Regions from separate parts of the Homo sapiens genome. Here all the other regions are linked to region 1. The links are contacts of gene promoters, found by promoter capture Hi-C in human tissues and cell types (Jung and others, 2019). All regions are on one chromosome and are shown on one strand. Each heading gives the region's core, a stretch centred on a gene start or on the middle of the fragment in contact. The rest is flanking DNA. Distances are from core to core; before and after follow the strand shown. Region 1 holds the start of HADHA (hydroxyacyl-CoA dehydrogenase trifunctional multienzyme complex subunit alpha). Region 2 has its middle 13 kb from the start of RAB10. Region 3 overlaps DRC1 (dynein regulatory complex subunit 1).

Region 1 (4,928 bases), core at 992-3,491:
GATACTTTCTTACTGGTGAAAACACAATGCAAAGTATATATTTATGTGTCTATATATTTCTATACAGAAAACAGAAAAATTAGGTTGGTAGCTTTTTATTACACACATAAGATGTACAAATTACTTTTAAAAACTCTCAGATATATACAATCGTATTTCTTCCAGGCTGGAGTTAATAATATTTACTGAGTGCTTACTCCATGAAAAACTGCTTGATATCTAAAATAACTCCTTTTCATCACACAAGGTGGTATTATTCCCCATTTTACAAATGAGAAAACAAACACAGAAATTAATTGCCCAAGGTCATCAGAGGGTAAAAGGCAGAGCCAGGTCCAAACCCAGAAGTCAGACTCCAAACAATGTTTTTTTTGTTTGTTTGTTTGTTTTTGAGACGGAGGACCAGGCTGGAGTGCTGTGGCGCGATCTCGGCTCACTGCAAGCTCCGCCTCCCGGGCTCACGCCATTCTCCTGCCTCAGCCTCCCGAGTAGCTGGGACTACAGGCGCCCACCAACACGTCCGGCTAATTTCTTGTATTTTTAGTAGAGACGGGGTTTCACCGTGTTAGCCAGGATGGTCTCGATCTCCCGACCTCGTGATCCGCCCGCCTGGGCCTCCCAAAGTGCTGGGATTACAGGCGTGAGCCACCGCACCCGGCCCAAACAATGTTTATTAATTGCTCTGTCATGCTACTTCTCATGCAAAGGAAATCCATCATCTCAATCATTCATTTTGCAGATGAGGAAAATAAAGCCCATTTAGTTTAAGGCATTTGTCCAAAGTAACACAGCTAGTGACTAGAACCACGTGCCCTGGCTACCACTTCCGAGTGACATCAGCTGCCGATCCATAAGAAATACCTTCAAACCAATGCAGGGGTAAGATAAAAATTACACGTTACTTTTCAAAAGTGTTGTGAAAATAGGGGAAAAAAACCACCAAACCTGTAAGGAAACATAACCGAAGGCTAACCGTAGGTAAGCATATGAGTAGTAAGACAATGGGTGATTCGTTTTTTTTTCATCTCTTTCCTCAATCCTTACAGCATTTCAATGTTCTATAATGTGCTTATGTTATAATTGGCAAATACATGCTACAGTTTTGTGGAGACTAAAAACAGCTGTTGAAAAAAGGGAGCAGAAAAATATTCAATCATTAAAAAAATCCCCTTACAGTAAGGGATTTCAGCTACTTGTCTAAAAAAAGCATACTACTTCAGCGGTTCCGGAAGAGGGAAGAGAGGTAATTCATATTACAAATTAAATTAAAAGTTAAAATTTCTAGTTAAGTAACTTATTAAGCACAACATGCAATAAAACGTTGTCCACTTTTGACTTTACAGATTTGGGATGGAAAGAAAATGCAACGTTTCCTACAACCACCCACTTTAACCCTTTCACTGCCAGTTTGAAAAGGAAAAACACTAGCTAATACAGGCTGACTGGGAATCATCAGATTACAAATCGTTCTCAGAACGATCTAACATTTTATTGCTTAAGGTAGAGGTATTAGCGTATTTTTAAAGTGTGTCTTCCAGTAAGTTGCAGAACTTCCCGCTGAAATTCAAAATACTATACGTTCACACTGACATTACTGAAACTGCAAGAGTTGAGCTCCCTACTTGATTGGGGTAGTAAGCACAAAAATGGTTTTGAGGGAACGGAGCAGGGAGGGGCAGTGATCTGCAAGGCTGATTAATCCCATACAAGACAGCGCTTGTTGCGGGGTAAGGTGCTGTTTTTAAGACAGCTCTTGTTGCGGGGCAAGGTGCTGTGGAGCCACAAAGATGCGACAGAATGGATCCCGATTCTCCTGGAACTCCGGATCAAGAAAATATGAGGGGCGTGAGCCCAGAAGTGCGACGCAAGAGACCCGCGGAAAGGTGACAGAACGAGTGGCACCAGACTCAGAAAGTTGGGGAGTTAGGAAGCCTGAAATCGCCGCAGGAGTCGTGAGAGGGGAAGTGACAGTCTCTTCAGAAGGTCACGGGAAACCGGGTCCCAGGGCAGTATCCCCACAGAGGGCTGCGTCTCCGGGCTGGGGCAGGCGGCAGCGAAAGGGAGACGCGGCTCCGGGGCCACCCCAGTCCCGGCAGGAGTTCTGCCCGGAGGTCTGGGATGCCCTCGGCCAGGCCTCACCTCGGGAGCGGAGGATCCTGAAGGCAGAAAAGCGGCTGAGGATGCCAATCGCCCGGCAGGCCACCATCTTGAGCTGAAGAGGACAGCAGTGGAGAGCGCCTCTAACGGGTGCGGCCGAGCGGAGGACTTTTCTCCCGTAGCCTGGCAGCCAGGCGCCTGGAGCACTGCCTGACTAAAACCCAGATGCCGAGTGGCCGCCGGCCCCTTAGCCCTGCCCCTCGCTCCTGGCTAACATGGCCGAAAGGTCGTATTCTCCGGGGGAGGACGGGGGCCCGGAGAGGAGGGGGTGGAGTGCCTGGTTTTCCAGTCAGGCGGCCGGAGGGCAGCCCTCAAGAACGGCCCTGACCGCCCGCGGGGTGAGGGGCCCTTTCTGGGCAGGACCCGCCCCTTGGTCCCGCAGAGCCTTGGTACTTGGACCTGAACCTTGCTCCGAGAGGGAGTCCTCGCGGACGTCAGCCAAGGTGAGACGGCGAGCCCTCAGCTCTCCGCCCGGGCTTTCCCAAAGGCGAGATTCCACTTCCTTCCCCGCAACTGTCGCCGGTGCCCCCGGCCCCCTCCCCTCCCTGGGAAAGTGGGAGTTGAGGGAGCGGAAGGAAACTCCTCGGACAAGGTCGGCAGTGCTAGCTGCAGTTAGGACAGTGACTTGGACTAGCGTTCCAGCTGAAGTTCGGGACAGTAGTGTCACCTGCGCCCTAATTTATCATCACAAGTTAACGAAGTCTGGGGGTGTGGGGGTGTGTGTGTGTGTGTGGGTGTGTGTGGGCGTGTGTGGGCGTCGGCCTTAATGTAACCCTGGTCTGCGTAGAAGTGTGTGTTGTTTCGCCTGCTTCCCCTGTACCCAGGTCGGCGGCTATAGAGATTGTGGACGGCGCCATGGGTTTGCCCGATTTCTGCTGTAAAGAATAAGACTAGGTCAGGTGACCTTTCGGGGCTTGAGTGTGGGAGGAACGGAGACAATCCTCCATCCGGCTCCGTTATCCAGATAATCCTGCGCTCTCGGGGGTTTTCCGATCTGGATGATTATCTATCTGGTCGTTCACACCTCAGCTCACTTAAGCGGTGAAGAAACTGCCTACGAATCAGAGAGAGTGATTTTACCCATGGCCATATGTAGTAGAAATAAGACTGGAGCCTAAGTCTACTAACTCCTAGTGAAGAGTTCTTCATTGCATGGTAGCTGTTTTTGTGCTGGAATGATGGGCTGGAGTCCTGGAATAAAGTGATTGATTTCAAAAGGAAGTCACATTGAGAGCCTGCTGTGCTCTGGTCACCTTCATACCTTTTTGTTTAGTCCTCACATTCCCCAAATTATTATCATTTGCATTTTCTAGATGAAGTTTGGGAAGCTCAGAATATATACATTTTCTAGTCTGTGACAGACCTAGCATTCAGACATAAGTCTGAGTCTCACTACTCGCCAGACTGACAGCTCTGCAGGACAGGAAACAAGGGGCATCGAAGTTAAGACTGAAATGAGTATAGAGACAGAGTAGAGAGGTTTCTGTTTAAAGCTCAAGTTGCATAGTGAGTGCTCATCATGTGAGCACTTTAAGCAGAAACTGGATGACCTGACCACTTCTGAATAAATTGCAAAAAGGATTCTTGATAATCTTACAAGGTTTTTACAGTTCAGAGCCTGCCTCCTGCCCATGTAATGCTTTCTTCAACACCTAACTGCGTGTAACACTTATTATTTAGGTCAGAAGTGGTAAATTTTGTTGTTGTTGTTAAAGGTCCAGACAGTAAATAGTTCAGGATTTGCAGGATCACTTTGGTCTCTGTTATATATTGTTTCTTTTGTTTTGTTTTGTTTACAACTTTTTTTTTTTTTTGAGACAGTTTTGCTCTTGTTGTCCAGGCTGGAGTGCAGTGGCGCGATCTTGGCTCACTGCAGCCTCCTCCCGGGTTCAAGTGATTCTCCTGCCTCAGGCTCCCGAGTAGCTGGGATTACAAGCGCACACCACCACGCCGGGCTAATTTTTTGTATTTTTAGTAGAGACGGGGTTTCACCATGTTAGCCAGCCTGGTCCCGAACTCCTGACCTTAGGTGATTCGCCCACCTCTGCCCCCCAAAGTGCTGGGATTACAAGTGTGAGCCACCACGCCCGACCTTACAACTCTTTAAAAATGTGAAAAACTATTTTTAGCTAGAGGCCCGTGTGTTGTAGTTTGCCAATCCCTGATTTAGATCACTCATTTGGCTCCATTTTTTTGCTCCCTGTGCTTTCTCTACAAAACTAAGCTCCATCAGGGCAGAAATGTTATAATGTTTCTTTGATCCCTAAGCACTTTAGTCCAATGGTTTATATAGAGGGAAACAGTACATTTGTATCACCATCTCTACTGGTAATAGCAAACACAGGTATACCCCTAACTGTGTATCAAGCACTGTTTTAAGTGGTGTGTGCACGTGGGTGTGCGTGCGTGTGTGTGTGTGCGCGTGCGCGTCCTATGTGGTTAAGTAACTGGCTTAAAGTCATACAGCTAGGGTGAATCAGGATTTGGACATAGTCTGGCTTTAGTTCTCTTAACCATTACGTTGTGTTTCAAAGTTGTAATAATGAGCTGTTAGAGCCACCCCATCTTGCTTTTGTTTTCATTACTTGCCTAGACTCTTCTTCCTTTCCCTTGCTCCCAGGTGCCTGCAGCTTCGTGTATCTTTCCATAGTTCACACCTTACTCAGGCTTACCCTAACCAACTCGATCCTACCCTACCCTACCCTGGAGTTTCCATGCTTTGAATATTTTTACCAAAATTTCTGTTTTCTGAAGTTTAGCAAATGACAGAA
Region 2 (4,928 bases), core at 1,168-3,667, 220 kb before region 1:
TTAACCCACTGTAACTTTATTTCATCTATACTCTACTTATCCCCTTTGCTCCCACTTATTTTGAAGGAAATACCAGGCATCATCACATTCCATCTCTTTTTTTCTTTTTTTTTTGAGACGGAGTCTTGCTCTGTTGCCCAGGCTGGAGTGCAGTGGTGCAATCTCAGCTCACTGCAGCCTCCTCCTCTTGGGTTCAATGATTCTCCTGCCTCAGCCTCCTGAGTAGCTGAGATTACAGGTGCCCGCCACCATGCCTGGCTAATTTTTGTATTTTTAGTAGAGATGGCGTTTCACCATATTGGCCAGGCTGGTCTCGAACTCCTGATGTCAGGTGATCCACTCGCCTCAGCTTCCCAAAGTGCTGGGATTACAGGCATGAGCCACTGCACCCCACCTTCCATGTCTTTTCACATCTTTTTCTTTTCTTTTCTTTTTTTTTTTTTTGAGATAGAGTCTTGCTCTGCTGCCCAGGCTGGAGTGTGGTGGTGCAATCTCGGTTCACTGCAACCTCCGCCTCCCAGGCTCAAGCAATCCTCCCACCTCAGCCTCCCTACCAGCTGGGACTACAGGTGCATACCACCTTGCCCTGCTAATTTTTGTATTTTTTGTAGAGACGGGGTTTCACCATGTTGCCCAGTCTGGTCTTGAACCCTGGGCCTCAAGCAATGTGCCAGATTTGGTCTTCCAAAGTGCTGGGATTACAGGTGTGAGACACCATGCCCGGCCTCTTTTAACCTATTTAAACACTTGTTTCTTCATCTGAAAATGGGGATGATCATAGTTCCTACATCAATGTATTATTGTGAAGTCATGCCTCTAAAGGGCCAGAACAATGCAGGAACTCCATAAATGAAAACTCATGTTGTTAGATAAAATATAAAAATACCCCAGGCATGGTGGCTCACGCCTCTAATTCCAGAACTTTGGGAGGCTGAGGCAGGAGGACTGCTTGAGGCCAGGAGTTCAAGACCAGCCTGGGAAACATAGTGAGACCCCATCTCCACTTAAAAAAAAAAAAAATTAGCTGGGTGTAGTGACTCACACCTGTAATCTCAGCTACTTGGGAGGCTGAGGCAGGATGATCACTTGAGCACAGGAGTTTGAGGCCACAGTTAGTTATGATTGAGCTATTGTATTCCAGCCTGGGTGACAGAGTGAGACCCGCCTAAAAAGAAATTAGCTGGGTGTGATGGCACACACCTGTAATCCCAGCTACACGGGAGGCTGAGGCAGGAGAATCAGCTTGAACCCAGGAGGCAGAGGTTGCAGTGGGCCAAGATGGTGCCACTGCACTCCAGCCTGGACAGAGCAAGACTGAGTCTCAAAACAAGCAAACAAACAAACAAGCAAACAAACAAAAAAGGGAGCCTCTGCAACTTTCCTATCTCTTTGCCTGTGTCCCTCTTTCCTCCTGGTGACCCTCCCTTCCAGCATCTGAGGACTCTGCCCTGCCAGCACGAGGCCCACTGCTGACATCATGACAGGGTTAGGATGACTGCCCAACCTGTCTAGGCCTCAGGATGGGCTGGGAGCACAGGTCACCTGAACCTGGGGTAGAGGGGGCTAGAAAGAGGCAGTGGAGACCCAGGAAAGAGGAACCGAGGCTGCAGCAGCCTTGGAGGGCAGGCAGGAGCCAAGTTTCAGCAGAGGTGCAGCACATTCAAGTGGCAAGGTCAGCAGAAGGTGGGAAAGAGGAAGTGGACGTGCACAAATGTCAGGTAGAGCTGGAGTCATCCTGGGAATTTTACCAGAAACAAGTGTATCAGTCACGGGTTTTGGTTGCAACAGAAACTGATATTTGGCATTTAGAAGCAGAACATACATTTACTGAAAGGCTATTGGGAAGCTCTCAGAATTACTGGGAAGGCTAGAGAAACAGGCTCAGGGATCTGGGGAAAGCAACAGGCCACAGATTCAGTCTGTTAGGCCAAGCAGTGAGTCCATCACTGCCCCTGCCGGACCCCAAAGAGATTCTGTAGCCTATAGCACCATGGTGGCCAGCACTGGACTTGGGATCCCATCCAGCTCTGGGGTCCAGAGGTGGCCCAGAAACCAAGTGCTACTGCTCTCAGTCGCCCTCACTGTGCCTGCTTCTTTGTGTAGCTGTACACCTGTAATCCCAGCTACTCAGGAGGCTGAGGCAGAAGAATGACTCGAACCCGGGAGGTGGAGGTTGCAGTGAGCTGAGATTGTGCCACTGCCCTCCAGCCTGGGCGACTGGGTAAGACTCCATCTCAAAAAAAGAAAAAAAAAAAAAAGAAAGAAAGAAATAGCATCCCTATTTGGCCTTCAAGGACACAGGGCAGGTTTGCCCTGTGGACACCAGTGCCCTGAGGGAGGGCAAAAGGTAGTGGAACCCTGAATGCATAAGCTACATGGGCAAAAGTCTGGCTTCCTCTTGGGAGTATTTTTTCTTTTATTTTTATTTTCAATGTTTGTGGGTACATAGTAGGTGTATATATTTATTGGGTACATGAGGTGTTTTGATACAGACATGAAATGTGAAAGAAGCACATCATGGAAAATGGGGTATCCATCCCCCCAAGCATTTATCCTTTGAGTTACAAACAGTAAAATTATACTCCTTTAAGTTATTATTATTATTTTTTGAGACAGAATCTTGCTCTGTCACCCAGGCTGGAGTGCAGTGGCGCGATCTCAGCTCACTGCAACCTCCACCTCCCAGATTCAAGCGATTCTCCTGCCTCAGCCTCTGCAGTAGCTGAGACTACAGGCGCACACCACCATGCCCGGCTAATTTTTTGTATTTTTAGTAGAGACAGGGTTTCACCATGTTGGCCAGGATGGTCTCGATCTTCTGACCTCGTGATCCGCCCACCTTGGCCTCCCAAAGTGCTGGGATTACAGGTGTGAGCCACTGCGCCCGGCCCCTAAGTTATTTTTCTTGGAGGTATTTTGGCCAACAGAGATGGCTGCTTTTAGATATTGTCTTGACAGTGACTGACTCAATTAGCAGGTGTGTAAGGGCTTTTGATAACCTATACTTCTACTCTTTCTCTGGCTCCAGGAAAAAGGTGAGGTAGCTTGCAAATAACTGGATTTTTCCAAACAGCTAGCACCAGACAGGGAGGGGAAAGAGCTGACAGCTGAGAGTTGAGCACCAAGCTTCAGAAACTGACAATTCCATAAAGTCCATGGCCAAGTTCATATGATGAAATAAATCTGTCACATTTTTAAATTTGCATGACTATTGTTATGCTATGTGGCAGTTAGGCATAAAAGAAACAGCCAGAATCTATATTTTTTGTATTGATCCAAACCAAATATTTAGGGTTTTTCTTCTCATTTTGATATTTTTCTGCAAATGATAACTATAAAGAGTATCAATATCAATGTCATCTACCTCCATGTGCAATTTGATCTTCTCAATTTGTTTAAAAATTTAGATCTGGGATGCTGAGCACTGAGTTAATCACATTCCTCACTTTCTAGCACATTGACCACTGACTATGTGGTCTGTGCAAGGTCCTACTCATTTTATATTTTTCCCCCTTCTTTTTTTTTTTTGAGACAGAGTCTCGCTCTGTCGCCCAGGCTGGAATGCAATGGCACGATCTCGGCTCAATGCAACCTTCACCTCCCAGATTCAAGCAATTCTCCTGCCTCAGCCTCCCGAGTAGCTAGGATTACAGGCACCTGCCATCATGCCCAGCTAATTTTTGTATTTTTGTAGAGACGGGGTTTCATCATGTTGGCCAGGCTGGTCTTGAACTCCTGACATCAGGTAATCAGCCCGCCTCGGCCTCCCAAAGTGCTGGGATTACAGGCGTGAGCCACTGTACCCAGCCTATTTTTCCCCCTTCTTCCCTCTCATTGCCTTCTTCTTCCATAGGTTTCATGTGTAATATGTTTGATGTATGTTATTAAACATGTGTGAAACCTCATAAAAGAAAGTTGTTGTTTGTAATTTACCTGAATGGCATTGTATTATAAATCTTTTTTTTTTTTTAATGAGATAGAGTCTTGCTCTGTCACTCACGCTGGAGTGCAGTGGTATGATCTCGGCTTACTGCAACCTCCACCTCCCAGGTGCAAGCAATTCTGTCTCAGTCTCCCGAGTAGCTGCGATTACAGGCGCCTGCCACCACATCTGGCTAATTTTTGTATTTTTAGTAGAGACAGGGTTTCACCATGTTGGACAGGCCAGTCTCAAACTCCTGACCTCGTGATCTGCCTGCCTAGGCCTCCCAAAGTGCTGGGATTACAGGTGTGACCACCACGCCCAGCCTATAATTCATTTTCTGTTTCCTTTGTTTCAGTTCACTATGTTGCTGAAGGTGTAGCTAGTTAGGGGCTTAATAGTGCATGTGGGATAGGCCACGGGCAAGCCTGCTATCGGCCCAATAATACAAGAAACTTTCTTATATGGTATACGGTAGGCCCTTGAATGCTGACCTGGCCTCCTCCTGTGGTTAATCCTACAAAAAAAAGCTAGTCCCAGGCTGGGTGCGGTGGCTCACGCCTGTAATCCCAGCACTTCGGGAGGCCAAGGTGGGTGGATCGCCTGAGGTCAGGAGTTTGAGACCAGCCTGGCCAACATGGTGAAACCCCATCTCTACTAAAAATACAAAAATTAGCCAGGTGTGGTGGCATGCACCTGTAATCCCAGCTCCTCGGGAGGCTGAGGCAGGAGAATCACTTGAACCTGGGAGGCGGAGGTTGCAGTGAGCCGAGGTCATGCCACTGCACTCCAGCCTGGAGAATAAGACCGAGAATTCGTCTCAAAAAAAAAAAAAAAAAAAGCTAGTCCCAACTCTGACCTCATTAGACCAGTTTTCTCCCTATGAATGTGGGATAGGCCATGGGTAAGGCCTGCGGTGATCACCAGAACTTAGGCATGTTTCTGTGAGGAACTAGAAAAGCATTGTTCTTTGCTTATGTGCTTATTTCACATTGCATGCCTGTAT
Region 3 (4,928 bases), core at 1,703-4,202, 160 kb after region 1:
AGTTGTATTGTTTTTACTTTACCTATAGGCAGTGCACCCACCCCTCGGTTGCCTGTGATACCCACTGCTGTTGCTGCCTGGGCCTTCTTATGTCATGAGGTGTAATGTTAAGGTGAAAGTTAACAGAATCAAATGTCATATAAAGAGTACAGCCGGGCGTGGTGGCTCACGCCTATAATCCTAGCAGTTTGGGAGGCTGAGGTGGGTGGATCACTTGAGGCCAGGAGTTCGAGACCAGCCTGGCCAACATAGTGAAACCCCTGTCTCTACTAAAAAGACAAAAAATTAGCCTGGCTTGGTGGCACACTCCTGTAATCCCAGCTACTCAGGAGACTGAGGCATGAGAATTGCTTGAACACCGGGAGGTGGAGGTTACAGTGAGCCAAGATCGAGCCACTGTACTCCAGCCTGGATGACAGAACGAGACTCCTTCTCAAAAAAACCAAAAAGAATAGGAATAATGTGCTAATGGCCCTGATACTCCCAATCTCTGGTGTCTTAGTTTAGGTTTGACATTTCTGGGAGATGTCACTTTCCTTTTTTTTTTTTTTTTTTTTTTGAGACAGGGTCTCACTCTGTCACCCGGGTTGGAATGCAGTGGTGTGACCTTGGCTCACTGCAACTTCCACCAGCTAGACTCAAGTGATCCCCCCCACCCCAGCCTCTCGAGTAGCTGGGACCACAGGTGCACACCACCATACCCCGCTAATTTTTTGTATTTTTGGTAGAGATGGGGTTTCACCATGTTGCCCAGACTGGTCTTGAACTCCAGAGCTCAAGTGATCCTGCCACCTTAGCCTCGAAAAGTGCTGGGATTATAGGTGTGAGCCACCACACCCAGCCGGGAGATGTCACTTCTGGGTAAAGATGCGAGATGGAACACATACATCTACCTTAGATCTCTATCATTTTAACTCCATTAAAATGATATTTAAGGGGATTAAGTAAAAAAGACGCAAATCCACAAAGTCAAGATCAGGAGGACTCAACAGCAATGAAATTGTGGATGCTGGGAAGCACAAGATAGATGGTAAATGGGTGAGCAGATTCAAGAAGATGGAAAAATAAGCTGATAGTGAAGAAAGCTGAGAACCCCCTTGATTTACTCTGCACTAAATCCCCAAAGACTAGGAGACTGATGGCATATCATATTCATCCGTGAGGATTTAAAAAATCCTATGGCCCTTCCAATGGAGTGACAGGACCTCTGTGGCCGAGAGACCTCAAAGTTCTTAGCCCTTAGCAGTGACAGGAGACTGGACATGTCCACTTCCTGCTACCCCCGTCCCTTTACTAATTATTATGAGGTCTTATCAAAGGCTGACCTGAAGATGACAAAAGGCCAGAAGACTCCTTGGCTTACTTCGTCCGACCACCCGGCACCCTCCTCCTCATGTTTATGGTTCCAACCTGACAACAACCCTGGACCACAGAGACCTCTTCCTGGACGACTGCCAACTTCAGGCCAGTTTGGACCGGTTCCCTGAGACTGCACAGATCCTGGACTTGTGCCCTAAGCATCACCTTTTTGCATTTATGACCCAATTGTAGTACATTTAAATGTTAAATCTCCACCCCAAAGTGAACATGAGTAGCATATTGTTGTATGTTCCGTGCACATGTAAGCCTAATGCACGTGCGTAATGAGTTTTCTCCGTAAATATTCACAACCTTCTCCTATATCCTGTAGAATATGCGTTTCCTACCTCCTCACCTAGCAGAAATATCTGCCTTATTTTCTCCCCTTCAAAGCCTGCTTCTCAGTCTCAGTTGAAAGCTTGCTTCCTGCCTGCAGGTTGTGTCCTTTAGAAATAAAGTTCTCTTTTGATTTTGTGGATTCTGACTCTTTTTCAGTTGACATCTAGAAGTGGAGGTGACAAAGGGAACCAAAATAAGGACAACCGATTGGAAAATTAATAGGTAGATGCCTAGAACCTTTCTCTCTCTTTGCACAGAAGATTGGAGGTTTGGAGAAAGTCAAGCGGAGGATCTAGGGCTTGGGGGATGCTAGACAGAGGCGAGGCAAGGATACTTCATGGAAAATAAGGGGATTCAGGGAAAATATGCACAGTGGATGCCAGGACCTTCCAGCTCTCCTCTCACCAGTTCCTGGAATGGTGGCACTTCAGCCTTCATATTCCAGGCAGGAGGCTGGAGAAGTTTCTCTGTGGAATCCGACCAGCCCCAAAAGAAGGATTTAAAGACACTAATGTTGGTCTGGGCACAGTGGCTCATGCCTGTAATCCAGCACTTTGGGAGGCCAAGAGGGGTGGATAACCTGAGGTCTGGAGTTTGAGACCAGCCTGGCCAACATGGTAAAACCCCGTCTCTACTAAAAATATGAAAATTAGCGGCGTGGTGGTGCATGCCTGTAATCCCAGCTACTTGGGAGGCTGAGGCACGAGAATTGCTTGAACCTGGGAGGCGGAGGTTGCAGTGAGCCGAGATCGTGCCACTACACTCCAGCCTGGGTGACAGAGGGAGACTCTGTCTCAAAAATAAAATAAAATAAAATAAAAATAATAAAGACACTAACATCGGGTTTGCTCACAAAGCAGCCCGATTAAATCAGCCCACGCTGACATGCACAGTTGTTAAGCCACACCCTTGTACTCACAGCTCCCGTCAGCTTTAAAAAAAATTTATTTTTATTATTTATTTATTTATTTTTTAAGCAACAGAGTCTCACTCCATTGCCCAGGCTGGAGTGCAGTGGTTTGATCATAGCTTAGTATAACCTTGAATCCTGGGCTCAAGCAGTCCTCCTGCCTCAGCCTCCTGAGTGTCTGGCACTACAGGTGCAGGCCACCATGCCCGGCTAATTTTTTTTTTTTTTTTAGAGATGGAGTCCTGCTATGTTGCCCAGGCTAGTCTTAAACTCCTGGGTCAAGTGGTCCTCCTGCCCTGGCCTCCCATAGTGCTGGGATTACAGGCATGAGCCACTGTGCTCAGCCCCATCAGCTTGTTTTTAATGTTTAAATTTTTATTTGTCACACTATTAAAATTTATTTTTTCTGCTTTATCCTGACACCATATTACAAGCTTCCAAATGGCTAGGGACTTAGATTGAAATGATACTAATTTGTCCTTATTTTCTCTAAATTCTTGGATTCTGTATAATCAGGTGTGTTTATGTACACATAACCAAAACAAACCATCCTTTATGTAGTTTTTTTTTAAAGGCAGCTGTTTCTTTAACAACAACTAGGTAGCTACTGTGAAGATGGTGACATGTAAAATTGGTAGTATTAGTATCCTTTTCCCAAGTTGTCATGGAAGTTACCATTATACTTATAGCTTTAGGTCTTTGGTACATCTCAGACAAGATAGGCAAGAATTTGGAGAACATTTTGAAAATAAGAGCAATAGACACATTCAGCAACAACTAGAATAATGGAACTCAAAGTTCTAAAATTACATGATATAAGTGAAAACAGCTTTAAAAGCTACCTCATAAGAGTTGTTTTATCATTAGCTTGATTTTTTCCACGTAAAACAGTGTTTATTTATTTTTAACCCATGTTTTAATTTTTTCATAGGCTTTTTAGTTCTTGTCATGAGTCAGTAACTGAGGATTTCTAGGCATCTGAGGAAAGTCTTTAACATGAATGGTAGATATGAAAATTAACAAAGAGAAAAAAGCACCTAAGAGGACATTAAGACTATATGTGGGGAGAAAAAAACAAGAATACCACAAAAAGATGATCATTCAGATCCTCAGAGAGAGTTTTGAAGTCTTTGGGGGAAAAAGAGGGAAAAAAAAGATCCTCAAAGAAAAAAGAGATGATATGGCAACCACGAAACAAGAATAGAATGCTACTAAAAGGAGTGTTCAGAGAAAAAAAATAGAGCTCTTAGAAATAAAAAAATTATAGAAATAGAAAACATTAGAAGGGTTGGAAAATAAAGATGATGAAATCACCTAGAAAATAGAGCGCAAAGAAAAAAGGTAGAAACTTATAGAGAAAATATTATTATTATTATTATTATTATTATTATTATTATTAATTTTGATACGGAGTTTCACTCTTGTTGCCCAGGCTGGAGTGCAATGGCATGATCTCGGCTCACTGCAACCTCTGCCTCCTGGGTTCAAGCAATTCTCCTGCCTTGGCCTCCCAAATAGCTGGGATTACAGACACCTGCCACTATGCCCGGCTAATTTTTGTATTTTTAGTAGAGACAGGGTTTCACCATGTTGGCCAGGCTGGTCTCGAACTCTTTACCTCAGGTGATCCACCCGCCTTGGCCTCCCAAAGTGCTGGGATTACAGGCATGAGCCACTGCACCCAGCCAGAGAAAAATATTTTTTTTTAATTAGAAGATATTATCACTTTTCTAGATCCAGAAAGAATGGAGCAGGGAGCATATTATCATGGAAAGAATTCAAGAACATGTCTCAGACCTGAAGATCATGAGGTTCCTGATTGAAATGTCTAGCACAATGGATGAAAATAGACCCACCCTAAGGCACACCATTGAGAAAGTTCAGAACACTGAGAATAAAGAGAAAGGGCCTACGAGCTTCCAGAGTGAAACAAAACAAAACACAACAAAACAAAACAAAACAAAAACATGGTCACATATAAAAAACAAAAATATGGTCACATACAAAGAAAGGCATAAAGACAGAATGACTTCAGGTTTCTCAGTTAGCAACACTGGAAGGAAGCAGTGAAGGAAAGTTATTTCCAACCTAGAACTCTAAACCCAGGTAGACAATCAACCAAGTTCCAATTTTTTTAAATCCTGAGAATTGGTCAGGAAGTAGAGTATTCAAGATGGCAGCTCCCATTTAGACCACAAACATGGGGCGGTGGTGAGGAAACAGCTTCCCAAAAGAGGACTCAGCCCCCAGGAGGGAGGGAGCTCAAATCTGAATAGACAGAAGTCTGAAACAGTTGCTTTGGAGAACATACTAGTTCTAC

The links. Contacts are between HindIII fragments. The study calls those that stand out against the background at their distance.
Region 2: a fragment that was not itself captured here is called in contact with the fragment with the promoter of HADHA in region 1 in 2 of the 25 tissues and cell types used here (adrenal gland and spleen).
Region 3: a fragment that was not itself captured here is called in contact with the fragment with the promoter of HADHA in region 1 in 1 of the 25 tissues and cell types used here (spleen).

The regions. Positions count from the first base shown.
Region 1 is chr2:26,242,391-26,247,318 of GRCh38, forward strand. HADHA (hydroxyacyl-CoA dehydrogenase trifunctional multienzyme complex subunit alpha) reads right to left here and starts at 2,242. Exons shown (of 20, transcript NM_000182.5): 1 at 2,140-2,242. The coding sequence starts at 2,206. It overlaps HADHB (hydroxyacyl-CoA dehydrogenase trifunctional multienzyme complex subunit beta), which reads left to right and starts at 2,549. Exons shown (of 16, transcript NM_000183.3): 1 at 2,549-2,600. RefSeq lists enhancers at 58-598, 2,084-2,764, 2,619-2,718, 3,577-4,304. The HindIII fragment of the contact is 15,994 bases long and covers 1-4,928 here.
Region 2 is chr2:26,018,822-26,023,749 of GRCh38, forward strand. No RefSeq gene overlaps it. Among named protein-coding and RNA genes, the nearest start is that of RAB10, 13 kb to the right of the region's middle. The HindIII fragment of the contact is 6,969 bases long and covers 1-4,928 here.
Region 3 is chr2:26,406,277-26,411,204 of GRCh38, forward strand. The region is part of intron 1 of DRC1 (dynein regulatory complex subunit 1); the gene reads left to right. Among named protein-coding and RNA genes, the nearest start is that of DRC1, 6.8 kb to the left of the region's middle. The HindIII fragment of the contact is 4,264 bases long and covers 821-4,928 here.